2 separate regions of the Homo sapiens genome follow, and region 1 is linked to region 2. The links are contacts of gene promoters, found by promoter capture Hi-C in human tissues and cell types (Jung and others, 2019). All regions are on one chromosome and are shown on one strand. The core of a region is centred on a gene start or on the middle of the fragment in contact, and the rest is flanking DNA. Distances in the headings are between cores, read along the strand shown.

Region 1 (4,955 bases), core at 689-3,188, 120 kb before region 2:
AGAACATACAATGTTTGGTTTTCCATTCCTGAGTTACTTCACTTAGAATAATTGTCTCCAGCTGGGCGCAGTGGCGCATGCCTGTAATCCCAGCACTTTGGGAGGCTGAGGCGGGCAGATCACCTTCGGTCAGGAGTTCGAGACCAGCCTGGTCAACAGGGTGAAACCCCATCTCTACTAAAACTATAAAAATTAGCCGGGCGTGGTGGCAGGTGCCTGTAATCCCAGCTACTCAGGAGGCTAAGACATGAGAATCACTTGAACGTGGGAGGTGGAGGTTGCAGTGAGCTGAGATCATGCCATTGCACTCCAGCCTGGGGGAAAAGAGGGAGACTTTGTCTCAAAAAAAAAAAAAAGAATAATTGTCTCCAATCTCATCCAGGTCACTGCGAATGCCATTAATTCATTCAAGCAAGCTATTTCTTCTTCCTAGTCTCCCAGGAATTATCTGAGGTTATTAGATTTTCCCCCCTTGGGTTTTATTTAATTATCCTCTGTATGTTTATCAAGCAAAATTGTTGTATTTTTATAATTTTTTATGTTTTTTTAAACAGAAGACAGAACATGACCATACAAAAAAATGGAAAGATAATCTGATATTGAAAGCTTGCTTCATTTCCATTCCTCTCTAATATTAATGGTGTGACTGGAGGTGAGAACAGCTTGCTATAAACACAGTCCCAGGAGTCCTCATTCAGCTTCAAGTGTGTGCCTGTGTGTGTGTCTGTACTAATTGTGCATATGTGTGTCTGTCTTTAGTGGGGAGAGTGATTTCAAAATAACATCATTAAACAGAATTGAAAGGAGCCTTGCTAATTAACTGAAACAAGATATGAAGTAGCAATAATTTAATGTTTTCAACATGGATAAATAATTAAAGTTGCAAAGACCTAGGCATAAAAGAATATGACATACAAATGAGGTAGAGATATCCCTTTTAAGAGTAGAGGGACGCAGTGGCTCACGCCTGTAGTCCCAGTACTTTGGGAGGCCGAGGCAGGCAGATCACGAGGTCAGGAGATCGAGACCATCCCGGCTAACATGGTGAAACCCTGCCTCTACTAAAAATGCAAAAAAATTAGCCGGGCGTGGTGGCGGGCGCCTGTAGTCCCAGCTACTTGGGAGGCTGAGTCAGGAGAATGGTGTGAACCTGGGAGGCGGAAGTTGCAGTGAGCCGAGATCGCGCCACTGAACTCCAGCCTGGGCAACAGAGCGAGACTCCGTCTCAAAAAAAAAAAAAAAAAAAAAAAAAGTAAAGGGACCTGGACTCAATATATTCCAAAAGGTGACTCAGAATACAGAGGTCAGCACGCAAGGCAGCATATGGAAATAAACAAAGGATGCATTTCAATTCATGGGACATGGAGCCAATTTATTAAAGTGCAAATAGAAAACATCAGGACAAGCCTGGGCGTGGTGGCTCACGCCTGTAATCCCAGCACTTTGGGAGGCCGAGACAAAAGGATCACTTGAGGTCAGGAGTTTGAGACCAGCCTGGCCAACATGGTGAAGCCCCATCTCTACCAAAAAATATAAATCTTAGCAGGGCATGGTAGCAGGCACCTGTAGTCTCAGCTACTTGGGAGGCTGAGGCAGGAGAATCTCTTGAACCCAGGAGGTGGAGGTTGCAGTGAACCCACATCATGCCACTGCACTCCAGCCTGGCCGACAGAGTGAGACTCTGTCTCAAAACCAAACCAAACCAAACAAAATCTGGGCAGAGGGACTTCTTGTATTTTGAAGCTTCAGCAGCAATGAAGTCACCTCATAGTGCAACATCTTCTGACACCATCTCCCATCACTTACCTCTCACAGATTTCCCTGCCACACTGGCTTCCTCGTTGGCCTTGAACATCTGAAACCTTCCTCTACACCTTTGCACCGGCCATTCTTTCTGCTGGGCACACACATTCCCAGATATCCTCATGGCTCCCGCCCTGTCTTCCTTGAGGTCTCATTTCTCTTTTTAAAAATTTCAGCTTTTCTTACAGATTAAAGGGTACATGTGCAGGTTTGTTACACGGGTAAATTGTGTGATGCTGAGGCTTCGGGTCCTAACAATCCCATCACTCAGGAGGTAAGCATAGGACCCAACAGATGGTTCTTCAGCTCACATCCCCCTCCCTCCATCCTCTGTCCAGCGGTCTCCAGTGTCAATTGTTCCCATCTTTGTGTTCACGTATATTCGATGTTTAGCTACCATTTATAAGTGAGAACATGCGATATTTGGTTTTCTGTTCTTGCATTAGGTCGCTCAGAATAACGGCCTCTAGCTTCATCCATGTAGCTGGAAAGGACATGATTTCATTCTTTTTTATGGCTGCCTAGTATTCCATGGTGTATAAGTACCACAGTTTCTTTGTCCAATCCACTATTGATGGGCACCTATCACCTTGACTGCTAGTATTCTCTGGACACCTAGGAAAATTAACATCCTCTATCCACCCTCGCCTTTTTACCTTCTTTCTTTTTCTTGCTAGCCCTGGTTACCATCTGACACAGTATATGATTTACTTGTATTCTTCTCCATACTTCACTGTAGGAACTTTTGTTTTTCAGCACTGTTCACTCATTGTCTAGACAGAGCCTGGAACGTTGACAACACTCAATTTAAATTCCTCAAATCCATGAAAGAATTTATCATTAAAGTATTGGTTTTTGTTTTGTTTTGTTTTGTTTTGTTTGAGATGGAGTTTTGCTCTTGTAGCCCAGGCTGGATGGAGTGCAATGGCGCCATCTTGGCTCCCTGCAACCTCTGCCTCTCAGGTTCAAATGATTCTCCTGCCTCAACCTCCCGAGTAGCTGGGATTACGGGCACGCACCACCACATCCGGCTAACTTTGTATTTTTAGTAGAGATGGGTTTTCTCCATGTTGGTCAGGCTGGTCTTGAACTCCCGACCTCAGGTGACCCGCCCACCTCTGCCTCCCAAAGTGCTGGGATTACAGGTGTGAGCCACCGCACCCGGCAAAGTTTTTAAATAAATGACCATTTGGGGAAAAGTTGAGCATCATGGGAAAGGAATTCCTAAGCAGAGATGGGATGGGAGATCTCATAAAGTAGACCAGATTCACACACAAAATATAGAAATTAACTTGCTGACTGTAGGATATAAATAATAGCTTTTCTGATGGGTGAAAAAAGCATGCTTATGTCATGTATTTTCTCTCTCTCTCTTTTTTTTTTTTTTATAGTCACCTCTACCACATGGAACCAGAGAATGATACACGAATTTCAGAATTTCGACTTCTGGGATTTTCAGAAGAACCCAGACTGCAACGATTTCTCTTTGGTAAAAGGCAAAAGATTTATACAATTTGAAGAGAAACCAGAGCATAACGATTTCTCTTTGGAGTGTTCTTATCCATGTACCTCATCATTGTATTTGGAAACTTGCTTATCATCCTGGTTATCATTTTATGCTCCCACCTCCACACCTCCATGTACTTCTTTCTCTCCAACCTGTCCTTTGTAGACATCTGTTTTGCCTCCACCAGGGTCCCAAAGATGCTGGTGAATATCCAGGCACAGAGCAAAGTCATCACCTCTGCAGGCTGCATCACCCAGATGTACTTTTTCATACATTTTGTAGGATTGGACAGCTTCCTCCTGACTGTGATGGCCTATGACCGGTTTGTGGCCATCTGTCACCCCCTGTACTACACGGTCATCATGAACCCTCAACTCTGTGGATTGCTGGTTCTGGTATCCTGGATCACAAGTGTCTTGCATTCCTTATTACATAGCTTAATGGTGCTGCAGTTGTCCTTATGCAGAGAGTTGGAAATCCCCCACTTTTTCTGTGAACTTAATCAGGTCATCCACCTTGCCTGTTCTGACACCTTTCTTAATGACATGGTGATGTATCTGGCAGCTGTGCTGCTGGGTGGGGGGATGTCTCGCTGGGATCCTTTACTCTTACTCTAAGATAGTTTCCTCCATATGTGCAATCTCATCAGCTCAAGGGAAGTATAAGGCATTTTCCACCTGTCCGTCTCACCTCTCAGTTGTCTCCTTGTTTTACTGTACAAGCCTAGGAGTGTACCTTAGCTCGGCTGCATCCCACAACTCACACTCAGGTGCAATAGCCTCAGTGAGGTACACTGTGGTCACCCCCATGCTGAACCCCTTCATCTACAGCCTGAGGAATAAGGACATAAAGAGGGCTCTGAAGAATTCTTTGGGAGGGAAACTAGAAAAGGGCCAGTTGTCCTAGGGCTGAAGCTATATCCATGATTGCAAGGCTCAAAGCCTCAGAGCCAGATATTGCTGTTGTTTAATCAGATCATGGAAGTGGAAACTGCTCTTTTTTTTTTTTTTTTTTTTTTTTGAGACAGAGTTTTGCTCTGCTGCCCAGGCCAGAGTGCAGTGGCGCCATCTCCGCTCACTGCAAGCTCCACCTCCTGGGTTCATGCTATTCTGCTGCCTCAGCCTCCCGAGTAGCTGGGACTACAGGCACCCACCACCGCACCCGGCTAATTTCTTGTATTTTCAGTAGAGACGGGGTTTCACTATGTTAGCCAGGATGGTCTTGATCTCCTGACCTCGTGATCCAACCGCCTCTGCCTCCCAAAGTGCTGGGATTACAGGCGTGAGCCACTGCGCCGGGCTGGAAATTGCTCTATTTATTTCCTGAAGTTTCCATTTCTTTTATCTCAACTGCTTCATCAAATTTAAGCAACTCCTATTATTAAGCTTTCCTCTCTCTCTAATATTCAACAGATTTTCCCCTTGTTTTCCTCCTTTCTCAAAGTTATTCCCAACCTTGGGTCAGAAACAATTTGGAGATTCCCATTTGCCTCATAGGGTGATGAGTTGTACTATTCCTATGGAATAAACTACGCTTGGCACTGAGGCCATTTATGTAATTTTATTGGAGAAGAATTTCTGAGGCTATGGTTTTTCACTTTTTGTGTTTGTCATTCATTTCTGTATCACTACCTTAATTGATCTTC
Region 2 (5,425 bases), core at 2,909-5,408:
TGATTCCATGTTTTTGCTGTTGTGAACAGCACTAGCTGTAATTTTGTATCCTTTAACAAATCTCTCCCTATCCTCTCTTCCCCCTACCATTCCCAGCCTCTAACATCCTCTGTTCCACTTTTTGCTTTTACAAAATCAACTTATTTAGCTTCCACACATGAATGAGAACATGTGCTGTTTAACTTTCTGTTTCTAGCTTATTTCACCTAACATACTGTCCTCCAGTTCCATCCATGTTACCACAAATGACAGGATTTCATTCTTTTTATGGCTGAATAGTATTGGGGGATGTTGATTTGTTGTGGTTTTTTGGCTTCATTTTGTCTTGTTTTTAGAGAGCGAAGTGTTAGACATCTTCCAACACATCATTGCAAACACTCCGAGTCCTGACTGATTCCCCTAAGATCCAACTTTCTTAACGGACCAGACCCTGTCAAACAATGAGATTTCAAGGAGGAAGAAGACAGCAAAAGCATGCTTTAGCTAAAATTTTGGCATGGGGTAAGTGTAGGATGTTATGTCCAGTTTAATTTGGTGTTTTCCTGGGTTTTGTTTCTCTTTTAGTGAAAAGTGTGTACTTTTTATGCCATTGCAGAATTGATTCAATAGCACCACTGAATTGTCGGTCACGTGGATATGTTCAGTTTGAAAAAAATTATCAAGCTGCACATTTAAGAGTTGTGCACTAGGCCGGGTGCGGTGGCTCATGCCTGTAATCCCAGCACTTTGGGAGGCCAAGAGGGACAGATCACGAGGTCAGGAGTTCGAGACAGGCCTGACCAACATGGTGAAACCCCATCTCCACTAAAAATACAAAAATTGGCCAGGTGTGGTAGTGAGTGCCTGTAATCCCAGCAACTCGCGAGGCTGAGGCAGGAGAATGGCATGAACCCGGAAGGCAGAGGTTGCAGTGAGCCAAGATCACGCCACTGCACTCCAGCCTGGGTGACAGAGCGAGACTCCGTCTCAAAAAAAAAAAAAGAAAGAAAAAAAAAGAGTCGCGCACTTTTCTTCACATAGGTTATTCTCAATAGTTGTTTAAAGAACACAAAAAAATTGAGTTTGTTCCATATGTGCTAACATGGAAAGATGACCCAGACATAATTCGGTGAACAAGGCAAGTAACAGGACAATTTTGTAGAACGGGCCCACCTATGTAACTAACACTGCGAATGTGTGTAAGTCAATGCGGCAATAGGCACTGAAGGGAAATTGCTCAGTCTTGTGCCTGGGCTACCTGGAAGCAAAGGGAAGAATTGGAAGGATGAGAACAGGCCAGTTTTGCTAAAAAAAACATTTCTGTATTGCTAGAAAGTTGCACTACTAGGAATGGAATTAAAACATGCATCAGGCTAAGCGTGGTGGCTCACGCCTGTAATCCCAGCACTTTGGGAGGCCCAGGCAGGTGGATCGTTTTCAGCTCAGGAGTTTAACAACAGCTGGGCAACATGGCAAAACCCAGTTTCTACAAAAAACACACAAAAAATTAGCCTGGCATGGTGGTGCACGCCTGTAGTCCCAGCTACTGGGGAGGCTGCGGCTGGAGAATTGCTTGAGTCCGGGAAGCAGAGGTTGTAGTGAGTTGAGATCATACCATTGCACTCCAGCCTGGGCAACTTAGTGAGACCCTGTCTCAAAAAAAAATCCACATAAAACTTGTACATAAATATGTATAACAGCATCCTTCAAATAGCCAAAAGCCTAACACAACTGAAATGTTCCTCCACAGATGAATAAATAAACAAAATGAGGTATATCTGTACAATGGACTATTATTCAGTCAGAAAAAGGGATGAAGTTCTAATATATGCTACCATGTGGATGCTATCTTCCTCCTCCTTGAAATCTCATTGATTTATAGGATCTGGTCAGCTAAGAAGGCTGGATCTTAGGGGAAGGAATTGGAATGGGAGTGTCTGCAATGGTTTGCTGAAAGACATCTAACACTTGGCTCTCTAAAAACCAAAACAAAATGAAACAGGAGACAACAAACCAACATCCCTGCAATACTGTTCTTGAAAACATCATGCTGAATGAAAGAAGCCAGACACAAAAATCACATAGTGTATGATTCTATTTCTGTGAAATATCCAGAACAGGGAAACCTGCAGAGACAGAAACTCGGCTAGTGGTTGCCTAAGGCTGGGATGTATGGAGAGATTGGGAGTGATAGCTAAAGGGTACTGGGATTCTTTTGGGGGGTGATAAAAATGTTCTAAAATGAGCCAGGTGTGGTGGCCCGCGCCTGTAATCTCACACTTTGGGAGGCCGAGTGGGGAGGATCCCTTGAGGCCAGAAGTTCGAGACCAGCCTGGGCAACACAGCAAGACTTTGTCTCTACAAAAAATCTTGAGGAAAAAAGTAGCAAGGCATGTACGTGCACACCTGTAGTCCCAGCTGCCCAGGAGGCTGAGGTGGAAGGATCGAATAAGCCCAGGAGTTTTAAGCTGCAGTGAGCTGTGATCGCTCCACTGCACTCCAGCCTGGGTGACAGATCTTATCTCCGAAAAAAGAAAAAACAAAATGTTCCAAAATGAACTGACGCAATGGTTGCATCACTGTGAATATATTGAAACCCACTGGATTGCACACTTCAGGTGGGTGAATTGTATAATACGTAAATTATATCTCATTTAAGCTGTTGCTATCGAACCGAGTTTGTTCTTCCTCTGTGCAGCAAGCCAATCAATGTAATGACAGATTTTGCAGAAGAGGAAGAGTTCGTTCATGAGGCAATTAAGCGACGAGGTGGTAAAACAGGTCTCAAATTCTCCTCCCCAAAAATAGGGTTTGAGGGTGCTTATGGGATAGAAAACGGGGTGATCTAAAGTACGGAGAAAGGTGACTGGCAGGTAGGGAAGGTGAGGTAATCAGAATTTCTGAGCAAGCATGGTTGAGCTACATGGCTTTAGATAGGACATTTGTGCAAAAAATAGCATTTAGCATGATCTGAAGGTGGAGTTTACGGCCCTCTGATATCAGCTACCCACATAGGTGCAGTTGAAGGGTCAGTGATCTCCACTGGCTTAAACTAAACAAGAGCTGCCTCCTACCTAGTTCCTGAAAAACAACTTTAAGCACCCATTACTATAGTGTCCCACAGACAAAAATGTTATCTGTAAGGAAGCCAGTGGGAGTTTAGTTATGCATTATTTGGCTACGTGACTTGCTAGTGGCGCTTTTAAGATCAACTATAAGTAAGCAATTAAAAGTAAGTAAGCAATTAAACGCAAGGCAGATTAAGTCTGGAGGGCTTAATCAGGTTCGCCTTTGGTTTCACTATTAACATAAGAAATAAAATGAAACAAAATGGCTGAAAAATAATAAGAGGAGGAGGAAGAGAGGAATCATCATGATGCATCAGTTAAGGCAACTGGGCTGGAACATTTTAGGGGTTGTTTGTTTGTTTTTATATTTAAGACAGAGTCTTGCTCTGTCACCCAGGCTGGAGTGCAGAGGCACAATCTTAGCTCGCTGCAGCCTCAAACTCCTAGGCTCAAGCCAGCCTCCTACCTCAGCCTCCTGAGTAGCTAGGACTATAGGTATATGCCATCATTTTTATTATTATTATTATTTTAGTGACAGGGTCTCACTATGCCCCGGCTGGTCTCAAACTCCTCACCTCAAGCGATCCTCCTGCCTTGGCCTCCCAAAGCGCTGGGACTACAGACGTGACCCACCACACCTCACCCCTTATAGGGTTGAATGCCAACTGTGCCAATTGCTGACCTTGGGCAGTCATTTCACCTCTATGAGCCTCAGTTTCTCCATCTGCAAAATGGGAGCAAAAATACTGATCTGTCTAGACTCTTGAAGACTCGATGAGATAATAACTAAGTGAAGTCGGTGTTATCTACACAGTGGAAGGTGAGATGAATAAACTAGGCATAATGATGATGGTAATAACCAGATGGGCTGGCTATGGGATGGGGGTTGGGAGAGGTTGTGGCTGGGCTGGCACAGACATCTGACTCATTTAGACTCTCTGCCTAGGCCACCTTTGCCAGAGGGAGTCCCCTCAGCCTTGCGATCACTCATCCCATTGGCGTTGGCTCCATTTCCACACCACAGCTGTGTGCCAAGGGTGTGTCATGAGGTTTCTTGAGTGACAGAAAACTCACCGACAATAAAGGGCCAGGTGATTGTGCCACCCGATTCATAGACCAGGCTTCTCAGGAGAAACCCCGGGAGATTCCACACTGTCAGCCCCTTCTCCAAGATCAGTACGTGGGCCTGACTCCTCCTCGGTGCCCAGCTCAGTATTGGCAACTAGGAGAGTAGTGAGATTGAACTTGGCCTTGAGGAACAGCTGCCTCTAGAGTTGGTAAGTGATTTGGTGGATATTAGCCTCTCTCTCTCTCTCTCTCTCTCTCTCTCACACACACACACACACACACACACACACACACACGCACATACACACATACGCTCCCTCTCCCTTCATGAATTAATGCTCTGGCCAGTTTTGGCAGAATGGAAGAAATTTCCATCCATCCCCTCTTTCTTTTCATCTGTTCATTTTTTTCTTATTTGTTTACTCAGCAAATTCTCTCCAACACCACCTCTGTGCTCCCTGCCACACTGTTGGCCATGATGGAGACAGAGATAATGAAGTCAGGCTTTCAGTCCTGAAAACTGAGCTGCCAGTTCAGCCATGAGAGTAAGAATCAAAAACACTGCTGTAATTCAAGTAGGAGCAAGCAGAGCTGTGAGAGTCCAGAGAAGGAAGAGGAAAGTTCCAGGAGGTCAAGAGGGATCCTAAAACCTACCTGGGTCACCATTGCTGTTAAGCACCTAGAGCTCTCCCCAGGTCCTTTGCGGATGGGAAAATCGAGTCTCAGAGAGGAGAGTGAGATGCCGAAGGTCACACAGCTGGGAAGGGACTGAGGCAGGATTCGGTTCTGGCTCCAGGGCTATGCTCCTTCCACTTCCTCCCTCACAATCTTTGGCTCCTCTTTCGTCACAGCACTTGCTGTGTGTGTGTGTGAGTGTGTGTGTGTGAGAGAGAGAGAGAGAGAGAGAGATTTAATATTCATTTCTGTCACAGACTAGAGCTACAGAAGGACAGAAAGTCAGGGAGCATGTCTGTCTTACTTAATGGATTCTAAGTGCATAACACATAATAGATACCCAGAAAATATTTGCTGGGTAGGTGGGTGGGTGGGTGGATGGATTGATGGATGGATGGATGGATGGGTGGGTGGGTAGATGGATAAGTAAATAGGTGGATGGATAGATGGAAGATAGAGATGATGGATGAAGGAATGGATAGAAGGAGGGCTAGATGGAGGGATAGTTGGAAGATAGAATAGATGGAGGGATGGAAGACAGAGAGAGATAATGGATGAATGGATGGATGGATGGATGAATGAATGAGTGGTTGGATGAATAAGTGGATGGATAGATAGATGGATGGGTAGATAAA

What was found. Contacts are between HindIII fragments. The study calls those that stand out against the background at their distance.
Region 1: a contact is called between a fragment that was not itself captured here and the fragment with the promoter of CASP14 in region 2, in 9 of the 25 tissues and cell types used here (aorta, bladder, dorsolateral prefrontal cortex and 6 more).

What each region holds. Positions count from the first base shown.
Region 1 is chr19:14,923,845-14,928,799 of GRCh38, forward strand. It overlaps the pseudogene OR7A15P. Among named protein-coding and RNA genes, the nearest start is that of OR7C2, 15 kb to the right of the region's middle. The HindIII fragment of the contact is 7,045 bases long and covers 1-4,955 here.
Region 2 is chr19:15,045,322-15,050,746 of GRCh38, forward strand. CASP14 (caspase 14) reads left to right here and starts at 4,159. Exons shown (of 7, transcript NM_012114.3): 1 at 4,159-4,324. The HindIII fragment of the contact is 29,360 bases long and covers 1-5,425 here.